Regions from separate parts of the Homo sapiens genome. Here all the other regions are linked to region 6. Evidence: promoter capture Hi-C in 16 types of primary human blood cells and fetal thymus (Javierre and others, 2016). All regions are on one chromosome and are shown on one strand. The core of a region is centred on a gene start or on the middle of the fragment in contact, and the rest is flanking DNA. Distances in the headings are between cores, read along the strand shown.

Region 1 (2,978 bases), core at 41-2,540, 310 kb before region 6:
AGGGAGAAGATTGTTCTAAGAGAAGCTCATTATGAAAAACTAGGAAAAATGAAGACTCTTTTCGAGCCCTCTGCCTCCTGCTTTACCAAACACAGGTTCTAGATTGCCAGTTCCACACTCGGATGGTCTGATCATCGGAGGCACTCAGAATCCAGGGATATTCCTGAAAGATATTCCAGACAAAGGCTTTAAACATTAAACAAATCTGTTCTATCAGGTTCTTGTAATCATTTTTCTCTAAAGAACTGCATTGCTTAACGGCTCAGCTACATTAGCAAAGGGGCTGCTGCTTTTGCTATCAGGTTAGCTGTCTCCTTTTCTCTACCACTCTAACAGCTTTTCTCAACTTCGGCACTTTCACCTATAAGACTTAAGAATGGAAGCCAGTTAGAGGCACAATACATTCTCAGAGGCAGATAGTGAAACATACATTTACATTTACTTCTATATGTGTGTGTGTGTGTGTGTGTATTTATATACAGTTAATCATGTAAATTAAGATCCTGTGAAAGACTCTTCTACCTTTAACTCTAGGATGGGAATATTATTTTATTGTCTGACTTCTTTCTGTCCAGTTTCAAAAAATTCCCAGGTCTCAGCAAGCAAAGCAGAAAGTAACATGTAAAGACAATTTAGCCTTTTTGGAGTCTATAAGATTGTTGAGAAAAGGAAGTATTTCTTATTTACACTTCCTTCTTACTACACTTGCTAAGCTTTGTGTTAAACACTGAAAATAGATGGTATTTCTATTTTCAATAGAGATAGTATCTCTACCTTCAGTATTTAGCACAAAGCTTAGCAAGTATAAGGCACACACATATTTAGTGAGCTGGTAAAATGAAAGAAAATAAGGTCTTTCGTAACTTTCCAGGTAGATGGCAACTTGTTCTAGGCAAGGGTCTTCAGGAAGTCCTTTATGGCAATGACAAATAATTCCTACTTAATAAGTTATCTTATTGAGTGGTTATCATTCTCAAATGTTTAAGCTGTAATTTTCTCATTCTCTCCTATCCTAGAATTTTTTAATTAAAAAAAGAAATAATATATACTCAACCAGTAAATTGTTTATTTCATCATATTCTTTCTAACTTAATTAAAGAGACTTAATTTACTGGCAATCAAAGAATAGTGTAAGTTAATGCTAATACACAGAACTATAAGGAGATCCTGTCAGGGTGCAACTGGATTCAGAGGTTGGGAGTCTGTAATCTGCACCTCACTATCTAAATCTACTATGTTACCTGGCAGATCAAAGAAAGTAGTAAGCCTGGCTAAGGGAACAGCCTCCACCAGACCCAAAAATCCTAGGATAGAGGGGTATGATTGTTAATACTTCGAAACGTTTGTTAGCTGATCAAAATGGCATCTTAGTCTGACCTTCTTCCAGACACACCTACTACTTACTAATAATACCCTACATGGGATTAGCTGGCAAACTTTTGTTTTTTGGTTCAGCAAATCTGAAATCAAATCCCTACTTTTCCCTACAGAGAAACAATGACTTCCCATAGAATCCACTGAATCCAATAAAATTAAATTCAGTATAATCCCAAGTGCTTCCTTTTGCAGAAAGAAAAAAAGCAGAAAGGACAATACCACACAGATTGTAGAAGAGCCACTCCAAAAACAACTCTATTATTAAAACATGGGTTCTCAAGGATCAAATAAAGATTACTATGGGGAAACTAAGAATGCTCCAAAACTAGCGCCACCATGACTACTTACATGATGAAAAAACGTGGTGCGAATATAATCTAAGTGCCCAAGCAATGTGAAAAGACAGCGCCGAAGCTTGTAATTCCAAACCTGCAAAGACAAATCAAACTAAGAAACAGAAATAGTTATTGAGCCTCTAAAAGGCTCAGAGAAATTGATATCTTTACAGAGATAGAAATATGTATATAAATATAGATTTATATACATTATTTGTATTTTGGCATTTCTAAATAGGTAGGAACCTTGGTAGAAAGCCTTGTTTAAGATTTGAGGGGAAAAGAACAAGAATGAAAATATAGGTCAGATAAACAACATGGGGTTGGGGTAGGATTAGGGAAAAGCTAAAGATAAAATTATTGAAGTTTTTCAGGCTGGGCGTGGTCACTCATGCCTGTAATCCCAGCACTTTGGGAGGTCGAGGCGGGTGGATCACAAGGTCAGGAGATCGAGACCATCCTGGCTAACATAGTGAAACCCTGTCTCTACTAAAAATACAAAAAATTAGCCAGGCGTGGTGGCATGTGCCTGTAGTCCCAGCTACTCGGGAGGCTGAGGCAGGAGAATCGCTTGAACTCAGGATACAAGAGGTTGCAGTGAGCCGAAATCATGCCATTGTACTCCAGCCTGGGTAACAGAGCGAGACTCAGTCTCAAAAAAAAAAAAAAAAAAAAAAAGTTTTTCTTTCTTTGGGAAGAAGCCATCTGCATTTAATAGCAGGAGATATTTATCCAGGGCTTGATTTGCAACTCTTTTTTCTACTGCAAAATTGTGCTCTTGGCTTGAATATAGACCCCTTAAGTGCTTTACCCATCACTTTTAAAAAGTATGACAGGCTGGGCACGATGGCTCATACCTGTAATCCCAGCACTTTGGGAGGTCAAGGCAGGGGGATCACCTGAGGTCAGGAGTTTGGGACCGGCCTGGCCAACATGGGGAAACCCTGTCTCTACAAAAATACAAAAAAAAATTAGCCGGATGTGATCCCAGCTACTTGGGAGGCTGCGGCAGCAGGATCACTTGAACCTGGGAGGCGGCGTTTGCAGTGAGTTGAGATCGCTCCACTGCACTCCAGCCTGGGCGACAGAGAGAGGCTCGGTCTCAAAAAAAAAAAAAAAAGTAGGACAGATAGATACCATGACTCCAAGGGAAACAATAATATAGGGCATCAGCTTCTTAGGCTCCTAACTTGATGGCAAACAACGCCCATACATGTGTGGTCTGTACTCACCTGTCAAGCAAACAGACCTTAACTTATTACATGG
Region 2 (3,146 bases), core at 586-3,085, 290 kb before region 6:
AGCCTGGGTGACAGAGCAAGGCCCTGTGTCACAAAAAAAAAAAAAAAAAAAGGATTATTTTATAGGCTCTCCTATTTGGAGGGTGGCTCATTCTTCTGGTACACCTGCTGAAAGACGGTTGCTCCAAAAAGAACCAAGACGTTAGTTCTTCTCACATTCTTTCCCCACATTTTGCTCCTACCTGATATTACAGCATTAAAGCCTTTTAGACTAGAAGAAAATATAAAGAATATCTGAAAGAGTAATATGAAACAAGGTACACAGCCCAGGTTAAGAACCACTAGTATCGTTAAAAAAAAAAGCATTGGATTAGAGATTGAGAAATTCAATTTGGTAATTTCTGAGCTTCTTTTTAGCTCTAATATGCCTTAATTCTGGTCTAGTATTTCCATTTTGACTCATAGAGTAGTTAAGAGATTTGTCCAAAGTTGTATGGTGAGTTGATCTCCAAGCTGTGTCATATCTGATTTCCTATCTCTAGTTTGGTGCTCTTTGTATCAGACCACACTGAATCTTTTCAGTGGCTGAAGCTTCAAATTGGGCCAGGCCATCTGGAATGGGATAGTTTCATCTCCAGCTAAACCACTGAGTCTGCAACCCTTTGTAACTCTTGATGAGTTTTTTTCTTTGACCTTATAGATCCTATGGTGGTTCTAGGATAACTATAGCTCAGGGATAAATGTCTCCGAAAAGGGTGTGGCTCCATCCCAAAAGGATGGAACTGGGCCCTCCTCCTTCTGGGATGTAAGGGAGGGCCTCCACAAACTAGCTGTCTCAGTGGGGTCCATCTCCCCTTTCAGTGCTATCAAGATCACAACCTGAGTCAGAATGGCTCAGCACCAACCTTCCCACTATGTGCCATGCAGCTCTTTTCACACATGCATGCTGTCATCAGCACTGCCACCTGCATGCGGCGCAGCTCCATCCAAAGCACCTTCAGCATCAACCCAGGTAGGGCAGATCCGAACCATGAGGGTAATGGAATAAGGGGCAGAGGGAGAGTGGAACCAGGCCAGGGAATGTTAGAGAGACTGTAATAGGGAAGGAGTAGACACCATGAAGGAGCTCTGCATGGGAGAACTAGAAACAATTCTGAAAAATTTAGGCAGCTTGTTCCTAAAGTGGATAGTGGCAGAGAAGCCAACCTCGGACTGTTGGAAGTAGAGAAAACGACTTAGAGTCCGTGGGGCACTGGTCAGAGATTTCCAATGTTGCCTTTATAGCTACCTTCTCCTTTAGCCTTGTTGATCTCTCATTGTTTGTGTCCTGCTTAGAAATCGTCTGTGACCCCCTGTCTGATTACAATGTGTGGAGCATGCTAAAGCCTATAAATACAACTGGGACATTAAAGCCTGACGACAGGGTTGTGGTTGCTGCCACCCGGGTGAGTGTTGGCTTCTGATCAGGATGGGCAGGGCTGGCACAAAAAGAGCTGGTAGGCCCCGCTCTAGCATATCAGATTTCAAAGTTGCTAAATTGGGAAGCCTCAAATGGGGAGGAATCTGGGCTGTGGGACTCCTGGGTTGTCTCCATTGCCACAGGACAGGTATATTCTCTTGACTGGAGCAAGAAAGGAGGTTTGGGGCCAGTTTTAAAGTATATATCCCCTGACTTTTCTTCTGTTGTACCTAGCTGGATAGTCGTTCCTTTTTCTGGAATGTGGCCCCAGGGGCTGAAAGCGCAGTGGCTTCCTTTGTCACCCAGCTGGCTGCTGCTGAAGCTTTGCAAAAGGCACCTGATGTGACCACCCTGCCCCGCAATGTCATGTTTGTCTTCTTTCAAGGGGTAAGGGCTCTTTGGCTGGGGTGCAATGGCAGGGAAGAAAGAGGATAGTAAAGATGAGAGTGGCTACTGGTTGGAGAAGACCTCAGCACTTGACCTAAGTTGTTAACCAGCACAGAGCTTCTGGATGTGTCTACATGTGTCTCCCCTTTAGATTCCTCCATTTTAGGAAGCTTAGATTCCTTCTTTTTAGGAAGCTTTTACACCCTGAATTGGTATGTAACCAGCCCCCTCTTTCCCCCACTGATAAGATATATTGGAGGCGGCCTTTTACTTTTATTCTCTGGACTCCTTTACTGCTATCTCCATCCAGGAGCCGTTAGGCTCCTGACTCTCATCACTAGGACCACAGCAGAATAAGGGAACAGCATCTGTGGCTGAGTCACTGGAGGTGGGGGACCGTTAAGAATCAGACACATAATAGCTGATGTTCATCTTAGACCTTTACTAAGGCTACTTTCCCCATTTCTGGGCTTCAGAAGTCTTGTAATACATATGAGGGATAGTCACAGCTGGGAGGTGGGGCCAAGAGAAGCCGAAAGTCACATGACTGTAAGCTGACTAGCAGTTGAGGTGACCTGAGATAGTCGTCTTACCTACAGCTTTGATGATCTGGCCGCCTTCGAGGCTCTCCTAACCCTTTGGAATCTCTGTTCCCCCTCCCACCTACCTCCATCTCTCAGGAAACTTTTGACTACATTGGCAGCTCGAGGATGGTCTACGATATGGAGAAGGGCAAGTTTCCCGTGCAGTTAGAGAATGTTGACTCATTTGTGGAGCTGGGACAGGTATGTGGCATGTCCCCCAGCCCCTTCCTTTTTAATTAAATCTTCCTCCTTTGTTGTTCTGCGGTCTTAACTGCAGGAACCACCGCCTCTTCCCTTGACTTCTATCCCCTAGGCATGGCCCAGAACAGGAGACTGATTCTAAGTGTTGTTTCTTCATCCTCCCCCCAGGTGGCCTTAAGAACTTCATTAGAGCTTTGGATGCACACAGATCCTGTTTCTCAGAAAAATGAGTCTGTACGGAACCAGGTAACCTGAGCATCTCCCCTCATTTCCTATTCCTACAGCTCAGAATCCAGACCCCAACCCCTGCCCTGTTTCCACCAACCCCCAGGGCCTGTGAGACAGGGTAAGAGACAGGATTGGATTGGGTGTTGGCCAAAGGATGAACACCACAGCTGTTGTTGCTGCTGGGAAGAATCAGGAACTCAGTGACATTCCATTGGTTCCCTGGACTGGGTAGTTCTCTGATCATTTGTTGCCTAGCAGACTACCACTGCCCATTAAGGATAGGTGAGTGACTAGCTCCCTTCTTGCCTTGCTGCCCCATGGATCCAATTGTCAAGGCTGCTCTACCCA
Region 3 (3,132 bases), core at 481-2,980, 300 kb after region 6:
GAGTTCCCTCAGTATTTATTGATCATTATTTTTACTATCTTAGTGAGGGGAGTGTAGCAGGGCAACAGGTAAGGAGAAGGTCAGCAGGGAAACATGTGAGCAAAGGAATCTGTATCATGAATAAGTTCAAGGAAAGGTACTGTGCCCGGATGTGCACATAGGCTAGATTTATGTTTCTCTTTACCCAAACATCTCAGTGTAGCAAAGAGTATCAGAGCAGTATTGCTGCCAGCATATCTCGCCTCCAGCCACAGGGCGGTTTTCTCCTATCTCAGAATAGAATGAATGGGAGTGGTCAGCTTTACACCCAGACATTCCATTCCCAGGGATGAGCAGGAGACAGAAGCCTTCCTCTTACCTCAACTGCAAAGAAGCCTTCCTCTTTCACTACTCCTCCTCAGCACAGACCCTTTACGGGTGTCAGGCTGGGGGATGGTAAGGTCTTTCCTCTCCCATGAGGCCATATCTCAGGCTGTCTCAGTGGGGGAAAACCTTGGACAATACCCAGGCTTTCTTGGGCAGAGGTCCCTGCGGCTTTCCGCAGTGCATTGTGTCCCTGGTTTATCAAGAATGGAGAATGGCGATGACTTTTACCAAGCATACTGCCTGCAAACATATTGTTAACAAGGCACATCCTGCACAGCCCTAAATCCATTAAACTTTGATTCATTACAGCACATGTTTCTGTGAGCACAGAGTTGGGGCTAAAGTTACAGGTTAACAGCATCTCAAAGCAGAAACAATTTTTCTTAGTACAGATTAAAATGGAGTTTCTTATGTCTTCCTTTTCTACATAGACACAGTAACAATCTGATCTCTCTTTCTTTTCCCCACACGTGGGCCATTGATCTCCCCAAAAACTCACATGCTCAGTGTTACAGCCAGTAACTTTTATCCCAGCACAAAGGGCGTTGGCTGCTCTCTCGTTATTAAACACCCGGAACTGAACGAATCCTGCAACAAATTCCCCTGAAAAAGAAGAGGTGAAGAAACAGCCAAGTAGTCAAAGGATGAACTAGAAGCAGCATCCCATTGGCCAGTCCAGGGATTCCCTAAGCCAAAAGCTGAGGCTACAGCCAAACACCCCAGGCTGTAGGGGTGCAGCCCAGTACCTTTATGGCCAGTGGCTGGTGCACGTCAGTCCTAAACTTGTCCCCAAGGAAACCTCTGTTCATAGGGGGCAAGAGGACAAAGGCTGGGACTCACAAAAGGACCCAGGTCTGCTTACAGCTTACAGGAGAAACTAGACTCTACAAAAAGATTACCAAAAAGATCTGAGAAGGCCCAGCAGGAATAAGCAATGATCAGATGTGGCTGCCTATTGCTGTTTACACACTTCTCATCCAATTACCATGGGTTAGTTTCCCTGACCATCACCTGCTTTCATCAAAATATCAAAGGCAAACAGTGATGTCTTTGATTTTTTTATCCACAACTTAACTTCTGTGCTCTTATTATACTGAAAACTGTCTTTTGTAAGATAATTAAAGTTATCCTTCATAACAAAAGTAAATCTCTCTCACCACTCTGCTAGTGGTTCTTTCCTGTGAACCTCAGTGTGCACTTTTTTTTTTTTTTTTTTGACAGGGTTTCGCTCTTGTTGCCCAGGCTGGAGTGCAGTGGTGTGAACTCAGCTCACCGCAACCTCCGCCTCCCAGGTTCAAGCGATTCTCCTGCCTCAGCCTCCCGAGGAGCTGGGATTACAGGCATGCGCCATCATGCCCAGCTAATGTTTTGTATGCACCTTTTCTTAACTATTATTGAAGGGGTGGCCTGCCCCTCCACACCTGTGGGTGTTCCTCGTTGGGTGGAACGAGAGACTGAGAAAAGAAAGAGACACAGCGACAAAGTATAGAGAAAGAAAAGTGGGCCCAGGGGACTGGCGCTCAGCATAAGGAGGACCCGCACCAGCACCAGTCTCTGAGTTCCCTCAGTATTTATTGATCATTATCTCTACCATCTCAGAGAGGGGGACGTGGCAGGACAATAGGGTAATAGTGGGGAGAGGGTCAGCAGGAAAACATGTGAACAAATGTCTGTGTCATAAACAAGGTTAAGAAAAGGTGCTGTGCTTTTGACGTGCACATACATAAACATCTCGGTGCATTAAAAAGCAGTATTGCCGCCAGCATGTCTCACCTCCAGCCCTAAGGTGGTTTTCTCCTATCTCAGTAAATAGAACATACAATCGGGTTTTACACCAAAACATTCCATTGCCCAGGGATAAGCAGAAGACAGATGCCTTCCTCTTATCTCAACTGCAAAGAGGCCTTCCTCTTTTACTAATCCTCCTCAGCACAGACCCTTTGTGGGTGTCGGGCTGGGGGACAGTCAGGTCTTTCCCTTCCCACGAGGCCATATCTCAGGCTATCACATGGGGAGAAACCTTGGACAATACCTGGCTTTCCTAGACAGAGGTCCCTGCGGCCTTCCGCAGTGTATTGTGTCCCTGGGTACTTGAGATTAGAGAGTGGTGATGACCTTTAACAAGCATGCTGCCTTCAAGCACTTGTTTAACAAAGCACATCCTGCACAGCCCTAAATCCATTAAACCGTGAGTCAACACAGCACATGTCTCTGTGAGCACAGGGTTGGGGGTAGGGTTACAGATTAACAGCATCTCAAGGCAGAAGAATTTTTCTCAGCACAGACCAAAATGGAGTCTCTTATGTCTACTTCTTTCTACATAGACACAGTAACAGTCTGATCTCTTTTTCTTTTCCCCACAATTATAAGAGTATACAAGGTGGTGATGAAGAAACCTGGGATTACGTGCTGTGAAATGGGGATAACAGCAATTCTAACTTCATAGTTTTCTCATGGTAATTAAATGACACAAAATCATGTTAAGTTCCAAGACAAGAGTCTGGTGCATTTTAAGTGCTCAGTAAATACTAGCAATTATTAATTGTTGTTATTTGCCACCATTCTCCAAGAGTACAAGAAAATATTTATGACTGGACTTAGGGAGCAAACACTCACGTTGACCATACGGTGAGTAATAAGATGCAGTCTTCTTAGCATCACCAAAGTCATAGACCACAGGTATGGCTGGGCCATTGTCATTCCAACATTTCCCTGATCTGTATTTCACTGGGTATTTCTGCAGAGACCCAGAAGAAAGGTTTTGTG
Region 4 (3,033 bases), core at 265-2,764, 340 kb after region 6:
GCAATTTTTTACAGGCAGGGGATGGATATTACAAAGTACATTCTCAAGGGTGGGGAGGATGTTACAAAGTACATTCACAAGGGCAGGGAGGGTGTATTGTCACAAGGGCAGGGAGGATGTATTGTCACAAGGGTGGGGAGGAATGTTACAAAGTACATTCACAAGGACAGGAGTATCACAAAGTACATTATCACAAGGGTGGGGGAATGTCACCGTGGCTTGACCATAGTGCAGCCAGCTCAGAGGACCTTACAAAAAGTTTCATACTTGCACGTGTTTTCTTGTGGCAAAAATATAAAACATTTAATTTCTGGGATTCTTTTTTTTTTTTTTTTTTTTTTGAGATGTAATCTCACTCTGTTGCCCAAGCTGGAATGCAATGGCGAGGACTCAGCTCACTGCAAACTCCGCCTCCCAGATTCAAGCAATTCTCCTGCCTCACCCTCCAGAGTAGCTGGGATTACAGGCGCCCACCACCACGCCTGGCTAATTTTTGTATTTTTAGTAGAGACAGGGTTTCACCATATTGGCCAGGCTGGTCTCGAACTCCTGACCTTGTGATTTGCCTGTCTCGGCCTCCCAAAGTGCTGGAATTGCAGGGTGAGCCACCACGCCTGGCTGGGATCATCTTTTTTTCTACAGAGAGAAAATCAATTGTATCTCTACCAGGCAAACAATTTGCATTTGTATTAATATGAACAGGGATCATTTGTATCACTGTCAGGCTTCTACATATTTAACTTTTCTTTCTAGAGTTGCAAAACAGTACAAGACAAGGAAGGATACTGACCTGTAGAGAATCAGAAAACCCCCAGAAGCATCCTGTCCTCTAGTCTAGACAAATCCTAGTAATCCACTGGAAGGATGCCTGTATTTGTCCATTTCAGAAACTGTCACAATTTTTCCTTAACTAACAGCAGGAATTTTGATAGCCAAAAGTCATATTGTTTATTATCACTGTGGGAGCCAAGGCCTTTGGCTCCCTGAAGTTTGCTGAAAATCACTGACGCAAGGCAGATTAATAGGAAAAAAGGCATACAAACTTATTTAATATGTATACATAGAAGCCTTCAGAATGAAGACCCAACCTCCCAGTGAGGTGCAAAAGCTTATACGCCATCATGAGGTTACAGAAAGAATGAGTTTGGATCCTGCGGGAGAAAAGGAATTCTGTTGATGGGCAATAAATGATTACTAAAGAGAATGATTTGATCAGGAAACAAATTAACTTGTAAATAGTTTTCTTTGGAATTTAGATGACCATGAGAAGCAGGCATTAACTCATGAAAAGGTCTGTTCAGGTGTGGTTACATTTTTGGTCTTACAGGAGGAAAAGAAACCTACTGTTCTCCTTGGAGGGTCTGGATCTTAGGCAAATAAAGGAACTTCAGCTTTTTGGGAGAGACCGTGTGGAGCGGGGAAGGTCAGAGAGATCTTCAGGTTGCTTCTTCGGTTCAGTACTATATTTGGGGGTATCGATTTATAAACCCCAACATTACCTAATGTATTGTTCCCGATGAGCCTCCCTCCAATCCCTTTTCCCCTGTATCCCAATGGCCGGAAACTTGTGGAAATTCTTCCCAAGGCCTCTAAAAGCAGCACTTGCTTTTGCCTGGTTGCTAATGCAAGTTGTGAATTGCGCACGTGAATCACTATCACTGTCCATCCACCACTCTCTTGCTCTAAGGCATTGAAACGGCACTGCAGAGAGACGCCAGGTAACAAAGACTCTCCTTAACCAAGCTCTAGCATGGCTTCTAGCAACTTAAGGCCTTGTCCCTAGGAGGACCTCAGCCCCCCGCTTAAAATGCCTGCCTGAAAAAGCTCATCGCTGTCAGAAAAATTTACTGTGCATCCCAGCCCAAACCTAGCAATAGACACAGGCCCCTGAACTTCATCTTAGTGCAATTACTTAGAAAGAAAGCTTGCAATTAAAACATCTTTCTCTGCCTCTTTGAGATGTAAATCTTCTACCCAGAGCTATTTTCACTGGGACCTGAGAGTTTCTTTGAAATGCAAACATTTGAGGAAATAAATCTTGCTCCAGCTCCCAACCAGGTGGGTGCCTTGCTCTAACTTGCACTACTAGCTCCTGTCGTAAAAATAGGTGCTTATTTCTCTTCTGGACAAGAGCCAATTCACAAATCCAGATTGTCTAGTCACATGGAGCAATTCTCCTTAATATCTTCATGCCTATCCCTTAGCACATCCCAGCCTTCAAAAGGCCTCCTGCATTTTTTTTTTTTTTAAGGAAGTTAAGTTCAGTTCACCTTGGGCCCTCTTCCCTACTGCAATAGTTACTACTTAAAAAAACCTATCCTAGGCCGGGTGCAGTGGCTCACGCCTGTAATCCCAACACTTTGGGAGGCCGAGGTGGGCAGATCACCTGGGGTCAAAAGTTCAAAACCAGCCTGACCAACATGGAGAAACGCTGTCTCCACTAAAAATACAAAAAAATTAGCCGGGCGTGGTGGTGCATGCCTGTAATCCCAGCTATTCAGGAGGCTGAGGCAGGAGAATCGCTTGAACCCCGGACACGGAGGTTGCGGTGAGCCAAGATCGCGCCATTACCCTCCAGCCTGGGCGACAAGAGTGAAACTCCATCTCAAATAAATAAATAAATACCTATCCTTACTTCTTGTCTAAACTATTGTCTGGCTTTGTTTAGCTTTGACACAGGCTTTATAAGCCCACAAGTAACTTTAAGGCAAAGCCTTATAAATTCATCCAAGGCACTGACATTGAAGAATGTCTAACATTTCTGTGATATGCTTCAATCTCACTTCCAGCCTGTTCCAAACCTTCTTTTTAGTTTTCTACTTCCAGAGACTTTTTCCTTTGGTTAATCACCTTGTAATTCTTAGGTCTGATTCTCGAGCTAGCACATTTCAGCCCCTACAAATAAATGCCTTCTCCCAAAATGTGCAGCTCTTTTGCCATGCTACATTCTATTTGTCTTTCTAGTACTATTTTAATAAGTATCATAGCTCAAGCATGATCAACCCTCAGCTTCTTTATATGGTTATAGGAGTC
Region 5 (3,237 bases), core at 483-2,982, 360 kb before region 6:
TGGGATTACAGGTATGAGCCACTCCACCCAGCCCAGAGTTTTCATTTGTTCCTTAAAATAATTAAGCTGGAAAGGCAAGGACAATTATGAGCACAACTGTAGTCAAGTTGAGAAGACCTCAAAAAAGTCAAGTTTAGACCTTCGGATTTTCCATAGAAGAGAAAAAGATACTAGGTTTTAGGGTACAGAGAGCCAGATCTGAAGAGTAGCTGCAGGGGGAAGGTGCTGTTAGAAGGAGGATATAGACACATTCTCTGGGGGGAACATATGGTGACTGACCCATGCACACAAAGGGGGCCTTAGCGAAACTGCAGAGGACTGATCCTTAAACCAATCACATCTTTGCCAATCTCTGTCACCTGTGGAAAAACAAACAAAGGAACAAGTTAGAGATTTGTAAGATTGAGAACCCTAGAAAATGTATTCCCTATACCCCTCAATGGGCACAGTAGACAGGTATTGGGGTGTTCATCACTGACTGGCCAAGAGCAGTGGGGAGATGCTCTAGCTTTCTCCAGTGTCACTGCCTCAGGGAGCAGGGGACAAGCACAAGAAGAAAAAAAGGACCACCATGTTTCTTTCTTTTTCCCCTTCGCTCAATATCCTAGATATATTTATTGAGGACAGTACTTACTGTGGTGACCCTGCAGATTTGACCTTTGAACTCAGGGGAATAGCAGGCCCCACTGAGTGGACACTTTTCTACTGGCTTTCCACGGTAGATGGGCCGATATGATGCAGCACAAATGTCAAAGGGGTTGTGCATGTCATAATTGAGCTGGTAGGCATCTGTGGGATTCTTCTCACAGGCAGACAGGATTTTTCGGGTCTAGGGGAAGGAAGGAGTATTTAGGAGGACAGAAGGCTGCAGACAACACCTCAAAGGATCCCAACACCATGGTTTGGTAGTTCCGTTGATGTGAGACACAACTGTACTGCGTGAAAAGAGGTCCCAACCTCTGTACTGGATGTATGTGAAGGGTTAACAATCACCATTCCTATTGTATCAAACTTTCCCCTTCTCAATACAAAAGTGGCTCCATAATCTAGACCCACATTCCTCCACCAACTCTAGAGATTATCAGGGTCAGGTCCTAGAAAGGGTTAAAACAGACTTCCATCACCCAAAAAGAATGCATTTGGAGGACACAAGTAATGAGATGTGTATGTGAAGCTTTGTGGTGGTTGTGATGGGATATCTGGAGCTTAAGGACAGGACTGGGGTTACTTTCAGCTGCAGTGGAGCTATTCTAGGTTGCACGGCACTCTTAGACGAGTGCCATGTCTCAATAAACTATTAATTTTCCAGGAACAAAGGAAACACCAAGTCAGGAAGTAAACAGAGGGTAGCATTCTGTTGGCTTTTTGTTGAATGTTGTTATTTATTGCTTTGTTTCAGAGGCAAGGACCTTGGTCTGCTCCCTCCATGTAAGAGCTGATCTGGCTTCCCTATGGTCACTGAAGGAGTTCCATCTACCTGTTGGGCCACCTCAGGCTTGGGCCCGAGTTCTAGTAGGCGCCGAGCAAAGGTGGCAGCTGTCTTGAAGTTCTTGAGCTTGAAGAACAGATTGAGGGCTGTACGCAGCACCAGGATCATGTGCACAGGCTGCAGGTTTGAGTGGGTGAAATAGGCTGCCATCTGGTGGACAGAAAAAGGAACACATGCCAGGTTGATGCTACACCTGGTAGAAGTCATTTCTAAGCTGCTACACATGCATAAAAAACACAACACAAAATAGGATGATGGGCTATAAAGCTGAGAGGTCTTCTACCTCCTAGGTATGGAGGACTGGTGAGATGAGGAAGTAGGATGAAGAAATGTATCCTCCCCTCATAGAAATGAAGGGCCTAAATTTCTCTTCATCCCCACTCAGATCTGGGTTTGAAATTAAAGAATTCAAACCTAGTGAAGGGTGAAGGGAAGGACGTCTCTGTTGTGCTCAGGGTCCTATAGATCTTACCTCACAGATGCGCTTCTGCTGTTCTAGAGTCTCTTTGGGCAGCTTCTTCCTTTCTGTCTCCACGGACAAACCCACAATGTACTCACGGCAAATGGTGATGAGCTGCTGGGCCTGTAGAGGGGGCAGAAGGTCAGGATACAGAGACAAGAATGTGGAAGTGCCCAGAACTGGGACAGCGGCTAGACCCTCCTACCTCTGCAATCTCTTGTTTATTGTCCACAACAAGAAGTGGCACACTGAGAAGGATGGAACGGAATTTTTCCACAGCCTCCTCAAATTTGCCAACTGTGGTGAGCTGGTAGCACAGCTGCAACCGTTGGATGAGGTCATTAAGCTTCAGGCCCACAGCTGGTACACCATTCTTCAGCCCTGCATCCTTCCTGGAAAGGGAAAAGTAGGAAGAAGACAGGATAGTCAGTAGGCAACTAGGACCCAATTTCCTTTTCTGGCAAACATCCTCATAGCTACCCTCCTGTCTCCTGTTAAAGTAGCTGGGGAAGAGGATGACAGCAGGTGTAAACCAACCCCATAGAGTAACAAACCAAAGATCTTTTTCTACTGGGAAACCCTAGCTCTGAGAGAATTCTGACTATGTCACTGAGGCTACCATCTGAAATATCGACCACAACTTGGAACAGATGAAAGCAAAGAGAAAAGGGCCTTACCAGTTGCGATTAGGATAGCCATACATGGAGGGTAGGCAGGGCAGAGCCTGATAGGTTGTGCGGCCTCGGGCGTATGTCTGTAGGAACAGTTGCTTGTAGGGGCCAAACTGGATTACCCCTACTTGGTCATGAAGGAGCTGGAACAGAAGGAAAGAAACAAGGATTTTGGCCCTGCTGCATAAAAAGCTACTTTTCCTTGGGCAAGGTAATTAATTTCTCTGTTCACGTTTCCTCATCAGTAAAATACACTTAATTGTAAGACCTACCTCATTTAATGATACCTATTAAAGTATTTAGGATAGTGCCTGGCACACAGTGAACATTAAATAAACGTTAGCAGTTATTGCAGTGTTATCATTATTGTTGTTATTATAACAATACTGGCTTAGTGTTCAAAACAGACCTCTGCTTGGAAAGGGGTACTTATCTCACTGATATGAGCCAGAAAGCAAGCTATAAATGGGTGGAAGATGACTGAAGGATATGCCCTAAGAGATTACTAGGCCAAGTGGAAGGCAGATAACAGGAAGGCAAGTGTACTTAACAAAGATAAAGAGTTTTCATGAAAAATATACACCTTTCCCCTTATGGGTAGGATAATTTCCCTTGAT
Region 6 (3,141 bases), core at 59-2,558:
TACGAGCCATGGATCTGCAGATTCCAAAAGAAAGTGGGCTGAGCAAGCCCTGTTCGTCTGGCTGTCTGGTAAAAGACACATCCATTGTGCAGCACCCCCACATCCCTGGCATATCACGGTGCTTTTCCTGGAAAAGTCCATATTGGATTTGCGGTCTTGAAAACCCCAAGCTTAAAACACCCTGGGCCTCAGGATTTCCCCCCGTGTCCGTAATGCCACCTCTTCTACTCCAGGCTACCTCCCACAGTCTAAACAAATAAGCAGAAGGAGATTCTCACCCCACTCACACAGGCAGTCCAAAGTCCACTTCTTGCTTGGCTTTTTCTTTCTCAAATACCTTTTCTCATAGCCCTGATACTTCTAAACAGAAAGCAATAGCCTGCCTTGGGAAGAAGATAGACAGAAAGACAGGAACAGAGTCCAGATCCAAAGGTAGCTCTTGTCTGGCCTTCCTGCTGGAGCTACTCTCTGAGGGTTCCCAATTTGCATTTCCCACATACTGTAACCAGCCCTAGCCTTCAGAAATCCCAACTTCTTCCCTCTTGCTTTCTTGGACCTTCTCTTCCAAGAAAATACACACCAGTATGACCGCACTGTGGCCACTGCTGGTTCTCAGCCAAAAGCCTGGAGTTTTCACTTCTACTCTCTCTTCCCACTCTAGCCAATGCTTTCTGTTGACCCATGCTCCTGGTTTGTCAGCCTGCATGTGCACAGATTCCCTCCCAGGGCAGGGATGTAGGGCAAATCTTCTCCCAGAGCTCAGTCCATCCAGCTCAGTCTCTCTAGGCTGGGTCTTTGCCAGAAGATGCCCATGTAAAACCAACCACTCAAGCAAGACTTCTACCAGGGCCTGTCACCCTAAGACTGGTCAGAAAAGTGACTGGAGCCTTTGGCTTAGAGCCCCTCATTTCCTTGGAAACTGGGGTTGGTGGGGCTGAGTCTTGGAAACCCAAGGGCCCAGGAACTTATAATGTTCCTTCCTCTTTGAAAGAGGCAGTTGAAACTGACAGCCAGTCCCTAAGGAAGAGTGACCAAACACAATACCCAGCCCTGCACCTTCTCTCCATCCACGAAGATACGCTGATTCCTGGCAGCTAACATGGGACTCAAACCATCAGGCAGATGAACACTCACCTGTTCCGTAGCTTGCCCCAAAAGCCAGGGAGAGAAACAGCACGAAGGTCAAGGAGAGGAGCCCCTTGGGATCCATCAGCCAATGAGGAGAAGGAAGGGATCCTGGCCGGAGCCTGGCAGCTGCTCACAGATGCCAGGCAGAAGCAAGCTTCGTGTCATGCAGCAGAGGCTGTCTGATTTATGTATCAGGAACCAGCAGGTTCCTGAACCCGCTTCCTGTATCACTGGGACTTTTTCTGCTTGTGTCTTGAGGATTGCTCATCTCCCATGAGGCTTTAAATCACTTTTTTGTTCTCAAGAAGCAGGCTTCTCAAGAAGCCAGGCACTTAGCCTATGGGAGCCAGGAAAGGGGGTGTGTAGTCACCTCGGCCAAAACCCGGCTTTGGGCAGAAACATGCGCCCCAGCTTCTTTCCTTAGCTGTCTCCAGGAACCGGATGTTGCAGATTCTCTGAGCAGTTCTCTCCGGTAAGTCTTCTTGGATTGCAAAGAAAAGATGTTTCATTGGATCACTCCTCAAATTTGGCAGTTCACAGCTGAACTTAGATAACTGCATTTTGATGAGCTAATAGACCTCTTACTTCTGTTTTATTTCATAATTTCAGATGACACCTCAACATGCAGTCTGGTGCAGGTGCCACTGTCACACAGAGATGGGAAGGGCATGTGCGGGTCACTTGGAAGAAACCCTGTGACCCCGATGAGTGCAATGTGGTATAATTTAGTAGCCCATGCTCCTAGTTTGTCTTCTTGCATGTGTGTGGATTCCCTCCCAGGCAGGGATGTAGGACAAATCTATCCCAGAGCTCCATCCTTCCAGCTCAGTCTCCTTGTTGTGTGTGTGTTTTCTCCTCTAATTTTTAACGTCTGTGGGTACATAGTAGATATACATATATGTGTGTGTGTGTGTGTGTGTGTGTGTGTGTGTGTGTGTGTGTGTATGTATATATATATGTATGGGGTATGCATATATTTGTATGGGGTATATGAGATATGTTGATAGAGGCATGCAATATGTAATAATCACACAGGGTAAATGGGATATCCATCACCTCAAATATTTATCCTTTGTGTTACAAACAGTGCAATTATATTTTTATTTTTAAATGTGCAATTAAATTATTATTGACTATAGTCACACTGTTGTATTATCAAATACTAGTTCTTATTCATTCTTTCTATTTTTTTGTACCCATTAACCATCCCCACTTCTTCCCCAACCCCCACTACCCTTCAGCCTCTGGTAACCATCCTTCTACTCTCTATGCCCACAAGTTCAATTGTTTTAATTTTTACCTCTCACAAGCAAGTGAGAACGTGCAAAGTTTGTCTGTCTGTGCCTGGCTTATTTCACGTAACATAATGATCTTCAATTCCATCCATGTCATTGTGAATGACAGGATCTAATTCTTTTTTAGCTGAATAGTACTTCATTGTGTATATGTACCACATTTTCTTTATCCACTCATCGGTGATAGACGCTTAGGTCGCTTCCAACCTTGGCTATTGTGAATAGTGCTGTAATAAACATGGGAGTACAGATATCTCTTCAATATACTGATTTCTTTTCTTTTAGGTGTATACCTACCAGTGAGATTGTGGATCATATGGTAGCTCTATTTTTAGTTTTTTGAGGAACCTTCAAACCATTCTCCACAGTGGTTGTACTAACTTATATTCCCAACAACAGTGTACAAGGGTACTTTTTCTCCACATCCTTGTCAGCATTTGTTATTACCTGTCTTTTGGATAAAAGCCATTTTAATTTAATTGGGGCTGTGTTGTATTCTGGGAGTTGCCTTTATTTTGGAGTTTGTGTCTAACTTTTCATTGAGGAGAAGGAACTAGTATTGGCAGAAGGAGGATCCCGCCCTTTTTCATGAGTTAAACTATAAGAATGGGATACTGGAAGTGTAACCAATGCTCACAGGGAGACTTGAAAGAGTAGGGAAGTGTTTTTAGAGTCCATTGTAACAGGTCATAGGCACTCTCTGATGGGCCTCCCCATG
Region 7 (3,460 bases), core at 575-3,074, 330 kb before region 6:
AACAAAGACTACCTACAAGACTACAAGATACAGAAAATTGCCTCAAAAGACCAAATTTAAGAACAATTGGCTGGCGTGGTGGCTCATGCCTGTAATCATAGCACTTTGGGAGGCTGAGGTGGGCGGATCATCTAAGGTCAGGAGTTTGCAACCACCCTAACCAACATGGAGAAACCCTGTCTCTACTAAAAATACAAAATTAGCCGGGTGTGGTGGTGCATGCCTATAATCCCAGCTACTCGGGAGGCTGAGGGAGGAGAATCACTTGAACTCGGGAGGCGGAGGTCATGGTGAGCTGAGATCGCACCATTGCACTCCAGCCTGGCCAACAAGAGCAAAATTCTGTCTCAAAAAAAAAAAAAAAGAATGATTGGTTTTCAAGAGGGAGCTAAGCAAGAGCAAGCGTAGAAAGCTTATTCAAAGAAATAATTACAGAAAATTTTCCAAAACTTGAGGAAGAAATATCCAGGTACAGGAAGGCCTGAGAACACCAAACAGGTCCAACCCAAGTAAGACTACCCTAAGGCATATAAAAGTCAAACTCTCAAAAGTCAAGGACAAAGAAAGGATCCTAAAATACACAACAGAAAAGAAGCAAAGAACACACAAAGGAGCTCCAATTTGTCTGGCAATAGATGTTTCAATGCAAACCATACAGGCCAAGAGAGAGAGGAATGACATTTTCCAAGTGCTCAAAGAAAAAACCTGACATCTAAGAATACTGTACCCAGCAAGATTATTTTATTTTCCAAATATGAAGGATAGTATTTCCCATACAAACAAAAGGTGAGAATTTACCACCACCAGATCCATCTTACAGTAAGTGTTAAAAGTAGTTCTTCGATCTGAAAGAAAAAAACACTAATGTGGTAGCGGAAGTTACTGCAGCTGCGGTGTTGTGCTGTGGGGAAGGGAGAAGGATTTGTAAACCCCGGAGTGAGGTTCTGCTTACCCGAGGCCGCTGCTGTGCGGAGACCCCCGGGTGAAGCCACTGTCATCATGTCTGACCAGGAGGCAAAACCTTCAACTGAGGACTTGGGGGATAAGAAGGAAGGTGAATATATTAAACTCAAAGTCATTGGACAGGATAGCAGTGAGATTCACTTCAAAGTGAAAATGACAACACATCTCAAGAAACTCAAAGAATCATACTGTCAAAGACAGGGCGTTCCAATGAATTCATTCAGGTTTCTCTTTGAGGGTCAGAGAATTGCTGATAATCATACTCCAAAAGAACTGGGAATGGAGGAAGAAGATGTGATTGAAGTTTATCAGGAACAAATGGGGGGTCATTCAACAGTTTAGATATTCTTTTTATTTTTTTTCTTTTCCCTCAATCCTTTCTCATTTTTAAAAATAGTTCTTTTGTAATGTGGTGTTAAAAACGGAATTGAAAACTGGCACCCCATCTCTTTGAAACATCTGGTAATCTGAATTCTAGTGCTCATTATTCATTATTGTTTATTTTCATTGTGCTGATTTTTGGTGATCAAGCCTCAGTCCCCTTCATATTACCCTCTCCTTTTTAAAAATTACGTGTGCACAGAGAGCCCACCTTTTTCAGGACATTGCATTTTCAGGCTTGTGGTGATAAATAAGATTGACCAATGCAAGCGTTCATAATAACTTGCGAATTGGCCCTGATGTTCTAGCATGTGATTACTTCACTCCTGGACTGTGACTTTCAGTGGGAGATGGAAGTGTTTCAGAGAACTGAAACTGTGGAAAAATGACCTTTCCTTAACTTCAAGCTACTCTTAAATTTGAGGGTCTGGACCAAAAGAAGAGGAATATCGGGTTGAAGTCAAGATAACTGATAAGGAGAGAGTAATGACTAACTCCAAAGATGGCTTCATTGAAGAAAAGGCATTTTAAGATTTTTTAAAAATCTTGTCAGAAGATCCCAGAAAAGTTCTAATTTTCATTAGCAATTAATAAAGCTATACATGCAGAAATGAATACAACAGAACACTGCTCTTTTTGATTTTATTTGTACTTTTTGGCCTGGGATATGGGTTTTAAATGGACATTGTCTGTACCAGCTTCATTAAAATAAACAATATTTGTAAAAAAAAAAAAAAAAAAAAAAACAAAAAAAAAAAAAAAACACTAATGTGCAAAAAGAAAACTTTTCAAGATATAAAACCCAAGATGTAAAATTAAGTTCATAGACAAACCCAGAAGACTATATTACTATAATGGTGGTACACAATCCACTTATAACTTTACTATGAAGCCCAAAAGACAAATATATCAAAAGCAATAATAGCTATAGCAACATGTTAAAGAGATAGTCAAAAAGGCAGGAACAGAAATGGAGTTAAATGTATAATTTCTGAGTGTGTTTTAGCCTTTGTTTTTGTTCTTGTGTTTGTGATATAAAATAAGCTGTCATCTCTTTAAAATACCTTATTCTATCTATAAGATTTTTTTTTGTGAATCTCATGGTAATTACAGCACAAAAACTATTAATATATACTCACTAAAAATAAAAAGCATCAAATTAAGACATATTACCAAAGAAAATCACTTAACCACAAAAGAAGACAGTAAGAAAAGGAAGAGAGAAGCCTCAAAAAAAAACAAAACAAAACCAGAAAACAAGCAAAAAACAGCAGTAATAAGTCCTTGCTTATCAATAATATCACTGAATGTAAATGCTCTCAATTCTTCAATTAAAAGGCATAGAGTGGCTAAACGGATAAAGAGAGAAGACCTAACTATATGCTGCCCTCAAGAAACCCATTTACCTATACAGACACACATAGACTGAAAACGAAGGAGTGGGAGATATTCCATGAAACTGGAAACCAGAAAAGAGCAGGCGTAGCTATACTTACATGAGATAAAACAGACTACCAAACCTAAGATTGTAAAAAGAGACAAAGAAGGTCACTATATAATGATAAAGGGGTCAATTCAGCAAGAGGAAATAACAATTATAAGTATCTGTGCACCCAACACCAAAGCTCCCAAGTATATAAAGCAAACACTAATAGATCCAAAAGGAGAGGTAGACTACAATATGATAATAGTAGGAGAGCTAATACCCCACTCTCAAAAACAGACAGATCATCCATACAGTAAATCAACAAAGAAACAGTGGAGTTAAACTACATACTAGATCTAATAGGCCTAACTGCAATTTACAGAACATTTCACCCAACGGCTACAGAATATTCTTTTCATCAGCACATGGAACACTCTCCAGAATAAACTATACTTTAGGCCACAAAACAAGCTTGAAAAAATTGTAAAAAATAGAAATTATATTAAGTATCTTTTCTGAACACAATAGAACTAGAAATCAATAACAAGAGGAACCTCAGAAAATACAAACACATGTAAGTTAAACAACATGTTCCTGAAAGACTAATGGATCAATGAAGAAATTAAGAAGGAAATTTAAAAATTGCTTGAAACGAATGAAAATGGCAATACAATGTAACAAAATTTATGG

Evidence for each region. Contacts are between HindIII fragments. The CHiCAGO score rates a contact against its expected background, and 5 or more counts as called.
Region 1: a contact is called between a fragment that was not itself captured here and the fragment with the promoter of SLAMF1 in region 6, in 7 of 17 cell types (naive CD8 T cells, fetal thymus, naive B cells and 4 more). The highest score is 7.9, in naive CD8 T cells.
Region 2: a contact is called between a fragment that was not itself captured here and the fragment with the promoter of SLAMF1 in region 6, in 9 of 17 cell types (total CD4 T cells, naive B cells, fetal thymus and 6 more). The highest score is 11.0, in total CD4 T cells.
Region 3: a contact is called between a fragment that was not itself captured here and the fragment with the promoter of SLAMF1 in region 6, in 9 of 17 cell types (fetal thymus, naive CD8 T cells, naive B cells and 6 more). The highest score is 7.9, in fetal thymus.
Region 4: a contact is called between a fragment that was not itself captured here and the fragment with the promoter of SLAMF1 in region 6, in 12 of 17 cell types (fetal thymus, naive B cells, total B cells and 9 more). The highest score is 11.3, in fetal thymus.
Region 5: a fragment that was not itself captured here is called in contact with the fragment with the promoter of SLAMF1 in region 6 in 1 of 17 cell types (fetal thymus); the score reaches 5.5 in fetal thymus.
Region 7: a fragment that was not itself captured here is called in contact with the fragment with the promoter of SLAMF1 in region 6 in 4 of 17 cell types (total CD4 T cells, naive CD8 T cells, total B cells and 1 more); the score reaches 7.5 in total CD4 T cells.

The regions. Positions count from the first base shown.
Region 1 is chr1:160,333,517-160,336,494 of GRCh38, forward strand. COPA (coat protein complex I subunit alpha) reads right to left here. Exons shown (of 33, transcript NM_004371.4): 4 at 1,726-1,806; 5 at 87-163. Among named protein-coding and RNA genes, the nearest start is that of COPA, 8.2 kb to the right of the region's middle. The HindIII fragment of the contact is 997 bases long and covers 793-1,789 here.
Region 2 is chr1:160,350,422-160,353,567 of GRCh38, forward strand. NCSTN (nicastrin) reads left to right here. Exons shown (of 17, transcript NM_015331.3): 6 at 801-951; 7 at 1,275-1,384; 8 at 1,633-1,785; 9 at 2,466-2,570; 10 at 2,739-2,816. Among named protein-coding and RNA genes, the nearest start is that of NCSTN, 8.6 kb to the left of the region's middle. The HindIII fragment of the contact is 235 bases long and covers 1,719-1,953 here.
Region 3 is chr1:160,947,064-160,950,195 of GRCh38, forward strand. ITLN2 (intelectin 2) reads right to left here. Exons shown (of 8, transcript NM_080878.3): 6 at 2,983-3,103; 7 at 866-969. It overlaps LOC101928372 (a long non-coding RNA gene), which reads left to right. Exons shown (of 6, transcript NR_110695.1): 6 at 1,588-2,859. Among named protein-coding and RNA genes, the nearest start is that of ITLN2, 6.2 kb to the right of the region's middle. The HindIII fragment of the contact is 5,820 bases long and covers 1-3,132 here.
Region 4 is chr1:160,985,839-160,988,871 of GRCh38, forward strand. No RefSeq gene overlaps it. Among named protein-coding and RNA genes, the nearest start is that of ITLN2, 33 kb to the left of the region's middle. RefSeq lists a silencer at 1,561-1,855. The HindIII fragment of the contact is 816 bases long and covers 1,107-1,922 here.
Region 5 is chr1:160,289,858-160,293,094 of GRCh38, forward strand. It overlaps COPA (coat protein complex I subunit alpha), which reads right to left. Exons shown (of 33, transcript NM_004371.4): 28 at 2,627-2,763; 29 at 2,155-2,341; 30 at 1,962-2,072; 31 at 1,478-1,639; 32 at 635-829; 33 at 1-359. The coding sequence ends at 300. It overlaps LOC107985219 (a long non-coding RNA gene), which reads left to right. Exons shown (of 3, transcript XR_001738265.2): 3 at 1,400-2,969. Among named protein-coding and RNA genes, the nearest start is that of PEX19, 6.3 kb to the left of the region's middle. The HindIII fragment of the contact is 1,121 bases long and covers 1,173-2,293 here.
Region 6 is chr1:160,645,736-160,648,876 of GRCh38, forward strand. It overlaps SLAMF1 (signaling lymphocytic activation molecule family member 1), which reads right to left and starts at 1,309. Exons shown (of 7, transcript NM_003037.5): 1 at 1,135-1,309. The coding sequence starts at 1,210. It overlaps LOC107985220 (a long non-coding RNA gene), which reads left to right and starts at 1,274. Exons shown (of 2, transcript XR_001738266.2): 1 at 1,274-1,600; 2 at 1,738-3,141. RefSeq lists enhancers at 1,141-1,350, 1,391-1,440. The HindIII fragment of the contact is 11,196 bases long and covers 1,281-3,141 here.
Region 7 is chr1:160,316,402-160,319,861 of GRCh38, forward strand. All of the region lies in intron 8 of COPA (coat protein complex I subunit alpha), which reads right to left. It also overlaps the pseudogene SUMO1P3. Among named protein-coding and RNA genes, the nearest start is that of COPA, 25 kb to the right of the region's middle. The HindIII fragment of the contact is 2,829 bases long and covers 411-3,239 here.